2 separate regions of the Homo sapiens genome follow, and region 1 is linked to region 2. Evidence: promoter capture Hi-C in 16 types of primary human blood cells and fetal thymus (Javierre and others, 2016). All regions are on one chromosome and are shown on one strand. Each heading gives the region's core, a stretch centred on a gene start or on the middle of the fragment in contact. The rest is flanking DNA. Distances are from core to core; before and after follow the strand shown.

Evidence for each region. The method cuts DNA at HindIII sites, captures the fragments that hold promoters and counts their contacts. A CHiCAGO score of 5 or more calls a contact.
Region 1: a fragment that was not itself captured here is called in contact with the fragment with the promoter of RDH10-AS1 in region 2 in 1 of 17 cell types (endothelial precursors); the score reaches 5.2 in endothelial precursors.

The regions. Positions count from the first base shown.
Region 1 is chr8:73,496,004-73,502,331 of GRCh38, reverse strand. The region is part of intron 13 of STAU2 (staufen double-stranded RNA binding protein 2); the gene reads left to right. Among named protein-coding and RNA genes, the nearest start is that of STAU2-AS1, 79 kb to the right of the region's middle. The HindIII fragment of the contact is 3,254 bases long and covers 1,734-4,987 here.
Region 2 is chr8:73,354,968-73,362,256 of GRCh38, reverse strand. It overlaps RDH10-AS1 (RDH10 antisense RNA 1), which reads left to right and starts at 5,796. Exons shown (of 6, transcript NR_125388.1): 1 at 5,796-5,965. The HindIII fragment of the contact is 9,950 bases long and covers 3,900-7,289 here.

The sequences.
Region 1 (6,328 bases), core at 2,111-4,610, 140 kb before region 2:
GGACATGTATCAACAGTTAATATGAAGTAAGAAGTTAGCAAATTCTTATGAGGAATTTTTTTTCTGGTGCTTCTGCAATTCTGTAGAATAGGTATCATAATAATGCTCTATTGGTAACATTATAAGTGGTTCAAATCAATAATTTTTTATTTAATTGGGAACATATATCCTAAAATATGATGTAATAAAGGAAAATCCTACTGTAACTTCATGGATGCTAATTCTGCCCAATTATTAGCCATAAAAAAAATCCAATTTTAAGAAAATGTTTTCCACAAATTAGGTAATTTGGATTCTGGGTTTTTTGAATATCAGCAGAAGGAGCCCTAAGAAGTATCTCCTGTGTCCTAGTTCTGCACACACACTCCTACCCCCAAGTGGCCAACAGAAATGGAAACTCCTGCTTCCTTTTTCCTCTCTGGAATAATAGGTACTTTCTCAGGATTAGCTGCTGCTGGAGAAGAAGCAATAGATAATTGAAAACATCTTAATTTACATTTATATTTTGGTTGAATTTGTGAGCCAAAAGAGCAATTGACAAATATCTTGGCCAATGAATAATTATTGCATTGAACTTGCTTTTGGAAATACTTGTTGAATTTTATACTTTCTTTTCCCATTAAGGCCAAAATTTTGAATTCTCTAATGGGTAAGGGAGAACAAAGGCAAAGAGAAATCTAAGATTCTTTCCCCAGGAAAACATATTAACATCATAGTAGAATATGCTCAGGAAACTCTGACCTAAGCTTTTACCTTTAGAGGTTTAGAGTCTGGGAAATGTTTTACTTACACATACTGGGGAAGATTTATAGAGAAGTGAAATGTACTAGTATACTTTCATAGATAAGGCATCTGGAGTGTGTGTATATAGGGTGTATAACATAATAGCAACAAATGTAATAGATATTTAAAATTTTAAGATGTCAAATATAAATACACAATTCTAAAATAGATCATAATTTGCTATTAATATCTGTTTTCTTTGTATAGAGATGTATTTCCATCTAAAAGCCTAATGTTACTCAAGATAAATTTTGAAGGCCTAAAGTACATGGTTCTCTTTTTCTTATTAAATCACATTTTAATGAGGGTTCAGTACTTTTATTTAGTAAATATTCAACTGGGAGGGTTTCTGCAGTTTTTTTTTAAGTAGGAAAGTTTGCACAAAAGAAGTATTTTCTTATTACCAAATTAGTTACTTTGAAGTATCTGGCAGATTACATCAGTCTCTTATTTGAATTGGTACTGCAGAAGACATCTATTGTACATCATTAGTGATGCATTAAATTGGTTATGTTTTAAAATCTAAGCATAGTAGAATCTTTTGTGTTTGCCTTCGAAGACTGCTGTTATAATAAAACATTTTGAAATGAGTAAAGTTGTCTCTTTGGTTTAGTTAATGCATCATTGGAGAACTTAAAGATTTTAGCCTCTAACCATTCATCTCCTTGTTTAGCAGAATGTGAGAAAATTGTGCAAATTCCTTTATATTTTAAGGGAAAAATATCATTACTTATTATTTGTGTAATCACTTTAATATTCTGAGGTAAAATAATAAAACAGGAGACATTGATCATATAATTAGTCTCAAGTTTAGTCTTCTAAACATATGAACAGAGTAAGATTAAAATATACTGTGCAATTTTATCACGGTCATATTCTTATTGCCACTAAGATCATATGGTTAATTTTCTAATCGAAAATATAACTAGCAGAAATCACATTTTCAAGCTTCTATTTTTTTAAAGTGCACAAATGATGAAAAACAGGGCCAACAATATTTTTTTTACTAATCACTGGCAGAAACAAGCATAGTTTGTTAAAGGTTTCCCACAAAATACTGTGTAACTTAATACTAGGGATAATTTAACTACAGTGAGCCCTCAACATCTGTGGATTCAAATAACCAGTGATCAAAAATAATTGGAAAAAAAAAATTCACAAAGTTTCAAAAAGCAAAACTTGAATTTGCCATGTGCCAAGTAGTATGTTGAATCCACACCAACGAAGTGGTAGGTAGGCATTGTATTCGGTATTATAAGTAATCTAGAGGTAATTTAAAGTATACAGAAGATGTGCATAGATCATATGCAAATACTATGCCATTTTGTATAAAGGACTTGAGCATCTGTGGATTTGGGTATCCATGTGGGTTCCTGGAACCAATGCTCCATTGCTTCTGAGAGACTGTATACTGGACCATAATAGCTTGACAGATAGACTGGCAAAGAATGGGTCTTGTGCTTTTTTGAATCCCATATGGTACTAGACACATATATGTTATTTAATAAGAACTCTCAGTGATGACCTCACCTCTTAATTCCCTGGAAAAGTATAAGATAAATAAAATAAAGGCATGGAGCCCCAGCTTCAGCTCAATCCGTGAGAGCGCCAATCTCTTGACTATCACTGCTTGTCTTTGACAGAGGTATTTCACTTCTGATTAGAGTTATTCCATACTCCCGTGGTCTAGAGCCCATATGCAAGGATATCTTACTCCTGGGACTTGTTTTCTCACTGGTTTCTATCTATCTTTATCTTCTTCTCCAGTGACACCTTTCCCTCAACTTACAAATGTCTCCCTAATTCTAACACAGTCTTCCACCTCCACCATTCTGTCCTTTTTGAGCTATTGTTTTCTTCCTTTCCTCAACTGCCAACCTTTTTCTAGTTTCTCACCTCTTATTCACTGGTAGACAATACAGTGAATACAGGATGGATACCATCCCAGTCACCATTGCAACTGACCTGGCCACAGTCACCCTTGTCCTACTGATTGCCAAATACAAAGGCCTATGCTCAGACTTCCTCCTACTTGCCTTTTCTGCAGGATTGCCTCCCTCCTTTGTGAAGCCTTCTTTTGCCATGACTGACTTATCTCTTCCTTTTGGCTCTTTGACTTCTGCTGGCCCCTTAAATGCTGTTGTGCTCAAGGCTTTATCCTTGGTATCTTGGGTCCATTTGGGTCCTATCCACTTTCAAGTATTGCACTACTAGCCACATTTTGATGCCCTCTCAACCTCCATATTTAGCCATGACACCCTGTGTCAGTCAGGGTTCTCCAGAGTAACAACAGGACATAGATGTATTGAGAGAGTAGGTGGGGGAGAGACTGATTGATTTTAAATAATTGGTGCACATGATTGTGAGGGCTGGCAAGTGCAAAATCTATAGTGCAGGTAAGTGGGCTGGAAACAGGCAGAGTTAATATTGCAGTTTGAGTTGAAGGTGGGCCAGCAGGATGGAACTCAGGGATGATTTCTGTGTTACAGTCTTAAGGCAGAATTCCTTCTTCTCTGGGAATCCTGTTTTTGCTCTTAAGGCCTTCAACTGATTGGATAAGGTCCACCCACATTATGGAGGGTAATCTGCTTTATTCAATCAGCTGATTATATATGTTCATCACATCTGCAAAATGTCTTCACAGGAACATCTAGACTAGTGTTGGACCAAGCAACTGGGCACCACAGCACAGCCAAGTTAACACATAAAATTAACCGTCACATTCCCTTAGCTGCTCAATGTTTATGTCTCATGGGGTAGTTGAAAAACATATGGATACAGCTTTGACACTTGGTTCATATACTCACTTGCTGGGTTGCCTTGGGCAAGTTTCTTAATCTCCCCAAATAGCAATTCCCTTGTTTACAAAATAAGGACTATAATTATTAGTCTATGTGTTTGTCTTTATGATTTTCTTTTTATGTCAGCGCCATGCCTATCATAGTGCCAGTTACACAAATACTTGATGAACAAATGAAGTACTTAATGATGAAAGCAGGAAAGAGACTTGAGTTTTTATGTCACCCCAAGGAAGAGCTAGATTTGGACTTCAGAATCAGGATAAAAGTTTTCTAGCAAAAAAAAAAGTAAACATGCATACCTACTAAATGTATAGTGTATTTATTTACCTATGGAATCAATGCAGGCTACAGTGTATACACACATGTAGACTGTACTGTGTACATATGTTCTATGGCCATTCATTCAACAAACACTGAATGTCTCCTAAATGCCAGGCAGTGTGCTGGGCATGGGCCATATTATGTTTAGAGTTTCTTTGCCTTTGCCTTTATTACTTTTTTCACTGGTCTCTGACATGTAATAGATAATTGCCTGGAGGAATTATAGGTGACTACAGCATAGCAATAATGTTTACCTTTTTCCCCCCAGAAATAAGGTAGTATTATGTGGCAGGCTGGCTCTGCTAAATGTTCATTAAATAATATAAATCATGTAGAAAGTTAACTTCAACGGACATGATTTTTATCTTACTGGCAAATTTACAAACACAATGTGTCCTGTGCTAGACATTAAGAGATCAGTATATTATGTTGCCACGTGTACATAAGTTGTATCATTACCAGCTTTCACTGTGTATTTGTTAAAACAAAATTTAGAGATTTGCAGAAACACCTTTTGTATTTTGACAAAGCATGTGAGATGTTTTATTCACTTCTTTTTAAGAAATAATTCTGTTATGGTAATTATACTGATAAAGAAACACTCGAGTGTGTTATTACTAGTCTGTTATAAATTTGAGGGGGAAGAAAAGGGTCAAAAGATTATAGTAACATCAGGGAGAACATTTATATAATTTCTGTAAAGTTTGGTATAAAAACTGATAAGCTAGTTGAAATTATGTATGATTTTTACCTGGAGATAAATAACTTGCAGAGGTTCTATTACAAGTGTAATTGATAACTCGAAAAGTTGTCCTGTGATGCAAGTAGGTTCTACTTCAGTCTTTATTACCGAGGGATACTTCATAGCTAATAGTTTATACATTTTTCTCAGTTAGAACCTGAGTATCAGCTTTTATATCACCTGTTTTAATGAACATGGCCTTTCCCAATCCTTTGCCAAGAATTGCAATATTTATTATTGAATATTGATTTGCTTATATAAATGTGGTTCACTAAAATAAAGCCCTTTAATAATCTTCATAATTTAGACTACATGAAACAAAGCAGAAATTAAATAAGCTTTACTGCTATAGCAGTAATTTTGGATGTTTATTCATTTTAAAACCAGTCTTGCAATTCTTATGATTACATAAAGATCTAAAGCTTCAGATTAGAGCCAAATCTGCATCATAGAATGTGAAATGGGGACTTGGCAATTATTTAATAGACTTAAGCCAATTTAATAGATGAAGTAATCCACTTTCTGTGAGGTTGAGTTCAGAAGATAATTGCCAGTTCTTTGCTTCTTAATGATTGTTCAATGTTAGAAAAAAATCATCCAGAATTTTAAACTGCCAGATAAGAATTAATGAACCTTTCCTGATGAAAGTAGATGTTCCATGGAAGCATTTGATCTATGATTTTTATATACTTGCACTGAATTTGATGCTAATTTTATTAATATATTATTTTCAACAACAAAGTAATAAAAATTATAAAACTGAAAGGACTATTAGCAACTGTCTAGGTCTGTGCTGTCTAATACGTTAACCATTAGCCACATGTGGCTATTGAGCATTTGAAATTTGACTCATCCAAATTGGGATGTGTGCTCCAAGCATAAAATGCACACTGGATTTGAAAGGCAGCACCAAAAAACAAAAGAATGTAAATGATCTCAGTAATAAGTTTTTATTGATTAAATGTTGAAATGGTAATATATTGGGTATACTGTGTTGGTTAAATAAAGAATATTATTAAAATTAATTTCATCTGTTTCTTTTTACTTTTTAGATGTGGCTACAAAAATTACATATGTAGCCTGCACTATATTTCTGTTGGACTGTGCTGGTCTAGATCAACACTTTTATGTCAAAGATGAGGAAATTGAAGCCCAAAGAAGTAAAGGGATTGATCTAAACATGTACAACTTATAAATGGCAGAGCTGATACTCAGACCCAGGCTTTGTGATACCTGATACAGTTCTTTCCATTCTAGCACACTTCCTTCAGTTGTGGCAGTTACAACACACAGACACATACACATTCCAGAGCATATACATCTAAGTAAGCATTGATTCCTCCAAAGTGGTCATCTTCACATCTGGGGAGGAGGCTGTGTATGCATATTTTAGTAATACATTTAGGTTTCCACTTTCAGAAACATCTTGGAATTTTCTAAACATTCTTTTGATAGCAAATTTGTGTATTTTTGATGCACACACACACACCGAGAGAATAAGAGAGACAGAATTTTATAGTGAATACCCACATACCTACCACCTAAATTGTATAGTTAATATTTTGCTATATTTGTTCACCTCATCTCTCTATTTAAGTGGGTCTCTATTAACCCATCTCATTTTTGAATTGGATTTCAAAGAAAGAGGCAGACATCTGTATAATCTGATTTTGATTTTTAG
Region 2 (7,289 bases), core at 4,547-7,046:
CAAGACCCTCTTCAAACTTGCTGTCTTCCTTCACCCTACCCATCTTCTTCCAAAAAGGTAACATCTTTGTCCTATTGATCATCTTGGTGTTTCTAATTCCCTTTCTTTAGATCTTTTTGTATCGTTCAGAGATGCCCAGAGCAGTAAAATGAGCAATGACTCCTTTGGAGAAATAGCTGATTCCTGCTGGGATAGGAAATGTCCAAGATGAGCTTTATACATGTGATTTTACCAGAAAGCAGAAAAGCTCTTAAAAACTGGTCCAGAAGCCAGCTGGAGAGTCCTACTGGCCAAAGATGGGTTCATTTTTAACATTGCAAAAGAATAATGACTGCAATATATGGAAAGGTAATAAATATAGAAATCCATGAGCTCGCGATGATAAAAAGAGACCCCTCATTGATCACCACTAGAGGTTGTTTGGGTATCAACTCATTTCTCTAAAAATTGACAGAGAACAAGCATCGATCCCATCTTTCCTGTGTGAACTATATTTCAGAGTAACTAAAGAGCCAACAAGGTAAAGGTCATTTTTATGTAAGAATTTACCCCTAATAAATGCAGAAGGAATAACAGAATTAGAAAATTATGAGTTTGCAGTCCCTAATGAAATAATGAATTCAGAAATGATCATCAGTTGATACTGATGGCATGGTGGCAGGTGCCTGTAATCCCAGCTACTTGGGAGGCTGAGGCAGGAGAATCGCCTGAACCCAGGATGCAGAAGCTGCAGTTAGCTGAGATCATGCCACTGCACTCCAGCCTGGGCAACAGAGTGAGACTGTTTCAAAAAAAAAAAACCACTCTTACATAGTATTTAACATACTTGGCCAAGGTTCAAATCCTGCTTTTGGTGCCTACCTACCCATGCATTTATATTTTTTATTATTTATTATTTATTTATTTAGAGACAGAGTCTCACTCTGTTGCCCAGGCTGTAGTGCAGTGGCAGTGCAATCTCGGCTCACTGCCACCTCCACCTCCCAGGTTCAAGTGATTTTCCTGCCTCAGCCTTCCAAATAGCTGGAACTACAGGCGCCCACCATCACGCTCAGCTAATTTTTGTATTTTTAGTAAAGACTGTGTTTCGCCATGTTGGCCAGGCTGTTCTTGAACTCCTGATCTCAGGTGATTTGCCTCCCAAAGTGCTGGGATTACAGGTGTGAGCCTCCACACCCGGCTGACAGAGAACTTTAAAGCAGGAACTACACAGCAACACCCATGAAGTATTCGTTGCACATTAAAACTTTAAAATGGAATCTATTGAAACTCCTAGATCTGCCCTATCCTATCCGGTAGCCACAGGTGGCCTTTGAACACTTGAGATGTGGCTATTCTGAACTGAGATGTGCTTTAAGTGCACAATACATACCTGATTTTGAAGAATATAAAAGAAAAAGAATATAAAATATCTCATCTATAATTTTTTATGTTAATCACACTTTGAAATGATAATATTTTGGCTATTTTACATTAAATAAGTTATTAAAATAATTTCACCTATTTTTTTAAGTTTTAAAAGAGAAAGTTTAAAATTAAATATGTGGTTCAAATTATATTTCCACTGGACAGCACTGCTCTAAATATAACTTCACAGTTTATAGAAAATACTGGTGGTAATGGAACTAGTTAACACCAAAAGGAAATAAATCCAGAATGTGGGGCAATTTACTTCCTACAACAAATAAATGGTATTAGAACAAATTGGGAAGAGGGGTGGTCTCAGAATAAAATAGATATAACAACCAAATGCAGTATTTGAATCTTGTTTGCTTCCAGAACGACTATTTATAAAAAGATACTTTTGAAACAATCTGGGAAATTTGAACATTGAGACTGGGTATTAGATCATCTTAAAGGCTTATTGTTTATTTTGTTAGAGGTAATAACAGTATTACGGCTATGTTTTTAAAGATGTGCTTATCTGTTAGGAGTGCATAGCCAAGTATTTGTGGGTGGAATCATGTGTCCTCTGGGATTTGCTTTAAAATGTTCAGAGTAGGAAGGTGTGGTGGTTGGGTAAAACCAGGCTGACTAGATGTTGATTAATATTGAAACAAGGTGATGAGGCTATGGGAGTTCATTATATTTTTCTTTCTACTTTTTACACATTGAAAAATTCTAAAATTTAATTATAAATATTTAATACATATCTATATTTATACTATATAATGCTATATTTAATAATAAAAGTATGTATTTTATATAATAAGTTATAATGAATTTCGATGCCGCCAAAGCTATTTTTTATTTTTAACACCTGGCAAAGGTAAAAGCATGATTGGTTTGTCCGGCAAAGAGTCATGAGCCCTTAGAAGGCAGAGTCCAAAGGGACTGGGGAGGCAGGCTGAAAAGACCAGTGCCCCACTCTGGCCCTGCAGTAGCAGGTCATACCTGTTTCCCATGAGATGTGCAGGCCAACCAGGGCCAGTTCAAAAACACAGGATTCCCGAGGAGGGAGAGGGTTGGCAGGGCCCATGACCATCTAAAGGCCTGAGACGCACTTACAGGTCTGCCTGGGCAGGCCAGCTCAGTGCCTGGATGGGCCTCACGGGTGGGCACTGGGTCCCAGGGCCTGGCATATTCATGGTGTACCTGGAGGTGACTAGGCCTGAAATTCACGAGAGTGGATGAATAATCCCAATTTCTGTTTGCTAATTTACTGTGAGCTGTAACTGCCAAGGATCAGATATCCATGAACAGCATGTTGTGGAGAACCAACACTGGGTGGGAGAAGAACTTAGAAAGTAGCAGCGGCTGGAATCACCGGGCTGTGATAATTCCCAGTACATCTCTCCCCACCAGAGAGAAAACTGCCCTAGTGATGGCGCAGGACTTTCTTTTTGGTAGTAAGAGGATGTGGTTAAAAATGTAGTCCTGATTTTAAAGAATATAAAATATCTTATTTAAATTTTTTACATTAATCACATTTTGAAATGATAGTAGTGTGTCCCTAATTTTATCTGTTGTGGGAGACTGTGACCGACCACTGAACCCTCCTCCTCCCTCCAGACCTTTAATCAAGTTACCCTTGAGGTAGTCCATCTCTTTAAAGTAATTCTTCATTTTTATTCTGTGTTAAGAATCAGCTCTCAGAGGGCAAAAGTATTCTTTTGGTCCCAAGTTCTGATGGTGTCTTAGTCCCATTATGCTGTTTTAAAAAAATACCACAGATTGGGTAATTTATAAACAATAAACATTGATTTCTCACGGTTCTGGAGGCTGGAAAGCGCAAGGTCAAGGTGCCAGAAGGTCTGGTGTCTGGTGAAGGCTGCTGTTTGTTTCCAAGATGGCACCTTGTTCACTGTGTCCTTACGTGGAGGAAGGTTAAAGGCCAAAAAGGAGCAGACGCAGTGTGAAGCCTCTTTATAAGGCATTAATGCCATTCATGAGGGCAGAGCACTCAACCCCACCACCAGAAGGCCCTACCTTCCGATACAGTTGCGCTGGGGATTAAGTTTCAGCATGAATTTTGGAGCGGGCACGCACATTCAAACCATAGCAGATGGGATCCCTCATGTTACACCTTCAGGGTGTAGACAAGGGACTAAAGGTGAACTTTATCTGGTTCATGATTTCCGCAGCATAATAGTCATGAATATGGGTCCTGGAGTTGCACAAGTGGGGACTGTGTTTACTCTTACCTCATCTGTTGACTAATTGTGTGATCTTGAGCAAATATCCCCTCGAAGCGTTGGGTTCTTAAAAGTATATGCCCTTGACATGATTGCAAAACACCAATCACACAGAGCATCCACTACTGCACCTGGCATCTAGTGGGTACTTGGTAAATGAGAGCACTAGCTGTTGTGTTATTATTATGGGTGCAACTTAGAGTTGGTCCTGGCTAAATAGGTTTTGCTCACAGAGGCTAAACTATATGCCAAACCTAGGAAGCTTAGATCTGCACACCCCACTTGCAGATCTAAAGCATTTCTTAAGAGAATTAAAAATGGGACCAGGGCCAGGCACGGTGGCTCATACCTGTAATCCCAGCACTTTGGGAGGCCAAGGCAGGTGGATCACTTGAGGTCAGGAGTTCAAGACCAGCCTGGCCAATAGGTGAAACCCCATCTGTACTAAAAATACAAAAATTAGTCGAGCGTGGTGGTGCACGCCTGTAGTCCCAGCTACTCAGGAGGCTGAGGTAGGAGAATCACTTGAACTCAGGAGGCAGAGGTTGCAGTGAGTTGAGATCACGCTACTGCACTCCAGCCTGGGTGATAGAGCGAGACTCCATCTTAAAAAAAAAAGCGGGGGGGGGATACCAGGTTGAGGAATATAGGCGAATCTGATAAACGAGGTGTATTTGACATGCCCACCCTGCTTGTTTCTCTGCAATTTCATGAGGCTGCAGGGGTGGGGAAATGGAAGTTGCCTTTGACCTGACCCATGGCAGCCACTCATGACACAGGGAGTTAGCCTGTGTTCCACAGGATTCACTCCTCTTCTTTTCCCCAGCAACTTGTATCCATATGAGTCCTAAGACCCTCCCCATACAGCTGCCACCTTCCTTAGTGGTGTCCTGGGAAGGATGGTATTTGATGACTTGATAATGCTCAGTGGGTTATCCTCCAAGAGATATTTGCTTTTGAGCTCAGGATAAAGCCTCAGTTAGCTCAAAATAACAAACCTATAAGGATTCCTGTCAGAATCCCTAAGTGCCTGGCACCTAGTAGGTGCTCAAGAAATACTTATTAAGTGATAAATGGAGGGGATTTCAAGCACTGTTGTGAATTCCTGAGGGGCATCCTTAGGCCTGGGGACTTTCCTGGGACCATTCCAATCACCCCACAGAGGGTGCTTTCCTGTTGCAGTTATTCAGAAGGCCCGCCCTGAGCAAGGGCTCCAAACCAGGATTTCCTTCAGGGTTGAGGCCGACTCTAGTGGCAGCTTTAGGCGCTTCCTCGCTTCACAGTGCTTTAGCGCCATTAAAGCTCTGCTTTGGAGGACTGGGGTCCCAGGGGGAGTGAGAGAAAGCTCACCACTTAAGTCATTTATACTTTGGCTGCCCAGGCCTGAAAAAATGCCCTTGGGACTGATCCTGAAGTGCGGAAGGATAAGTTAAATGGCTTAATAGATCCTGGCAGCTTCGGAAAGGACTAATGGCTCAGCATTAATTGGGTACATAGAGTGCAGATGAATCTCTGAAAAGGTATTTCAGATTTGCCCGTTCAGCTTTCACTGGCTTCAAAGCATCACATCAGTTGACTCCCAAACAATGTGGATTATTAAAGAAATATGAATACTCGATATTTGCATCGACCTTCATATTTCTGGTGCTCTTGTTTATCCCCTGAGCAACAAACTGAATACCACTATGTGGCAGGGATTGTGCAGGGGGCTAGAGATAGATGAAGTTCCTGTCCCTGTCCCCACATGCCTTTATTCTGGAAGGCAGAGGTTGGGAATTTGAAAACAATGAGACAGCTGCTGGGTTGGAGGTCGATCCCAGGAAGACACAGAGGAAGGAGGAGGCCGGGGCTCCGCCTGGGTGGTAGGTGGCAGTGGAGGCTTCCTGGGTGGGTGGGGACTGGGGCATATGCCAGGCCTCCAAGGCAGGCAAACAAAGGCTCTGGCCGAGGGAGCAGCATGTGACTCACGCAGGGGGTTGGATGGGGAGCACACATGAGCTGGAGGGAGGAGGAGGGGGCTGGGCGAGGTAGGCAGGAGTCAGATAACGAAGAGCCAATGGGCTGTCAGGGGAGCGTCTGCCTGCACTGTGATGTGACTGTGAGTCACCGCAGGACCGGAACACGGACAGGACATGTGCGGCTCTGGGCTGTAAAAAAGACACCACTGAGAGTACAGAAAACACCTGTGAGAGAGGCTGGCATCCAGGGCGGGAAACCTCTTTTGAGGGCGTGAACCAGGATGTGAAGCAGCATTTGAATTCTTGCTGCTCTCTTCTGGAGCAGTGGGATATTGGGCAGTTCACTTAACCTCTCTGAGCTCCTTCCTCAAGGTGAGGAGAAAATGAAAAGATGTCTGAAAAAGAATATCTCAGGCACTTTGGTTGTAAGTGACACAGAGAAAACCATCTTTTATTTTTATTTATTTATTTATTTATTTTTTGAGACAGAGTCTCACTCTATCCCCCAGGTTGGATTGCAGTGGTGCCATCTTGGCTCACTGCAACCTCCACCTCCCTGGTTCAAGTGATTCTCCTGCCTCAGCCTCCTGAGTAGCTGGGACCACAGGTGCACCACCTTCACCCTTGGCTAATTTTTGTATTTTTAGTAGAGATGGGGTTTCTCCATGTTGGCGAGGCTGGTCTCAAACTCCTGAACTCAAGTGATCTGCCCACGTCAGCCTCCCAAAGTGCTGGGATTACAGGTGTGAGCCACTGCGTCTGGCCCAGAAAACCATTTTGAACCAGCTCAGTCAAAAGGAAGAATTTATGGGTAATCTCCTATTGCCCTGGAAGAGGCAGCGGTATGGAGGCCCTCAGGGTGGCAGAAACAGCTGCTGCAGGAGGCTCTCTCTCCATCCTTCACACTCCTGCTGCCCTCTGAGCACTGGTGCCATATTCCTCCCTGGAAACATGGCCAGCTACTGTTCACACGCCACAGATCACAGAGCTTCAGCACTTTCTGTAGTCTCTTTCTGTAGTTTCTGGTGGACAAATCCTGGAAAGAACTTTGATTGGCCAGGTTGGGGCTGGGTACTCTTCCATTGACCGGTCAGTTTGGACAGTGGGCAAAAATTATCATGACTGACCCAACTCAAGCCTTGTGGCCCCACTTCAGTCAATTAAATATGACCAGGGGAGCCACAGTTTAGAAACTGTGATGGCTCCCACTGAGAACACAGGATTGCAGTGTGGGAAAGAGTATTTCCTAAAGGTATGGGTGCTACGGGGTTGCTACGGGCTGAATGTTTGTAGGCCCCTAAGTTTGATACATTGAAGCCCTAAATCCCAAAGTGCTGGTGTTAGGAGTTGGTGCCTTTGGTGGTGATTAGGATTCGATGAGATCTTGGCTGGTATCCTCAAAATGGGATTTGCACCTTTTTAAGAAGAGGAAGACAGAGATTTCCTCACATACACCAATGAAAGGTCATAAGAGAACACAGTGAAAAGTCATCTATAAACCAGAAAGAGGATCTTCCAAGAACCAAATCTGCCAGTACCTTGATCTTGGACCTCCCAGCTCCAGAATTGGGAAATGAACATCCGTTGTTTAAGCCACCCAGTCTATGGTATTTTTATAGTAGCTCAAGCTAAGACAGAGGTGCAATCCCAGAAAATGAGAGATGCTGGGTAGATAAAACTGGATCAGCATTACAAA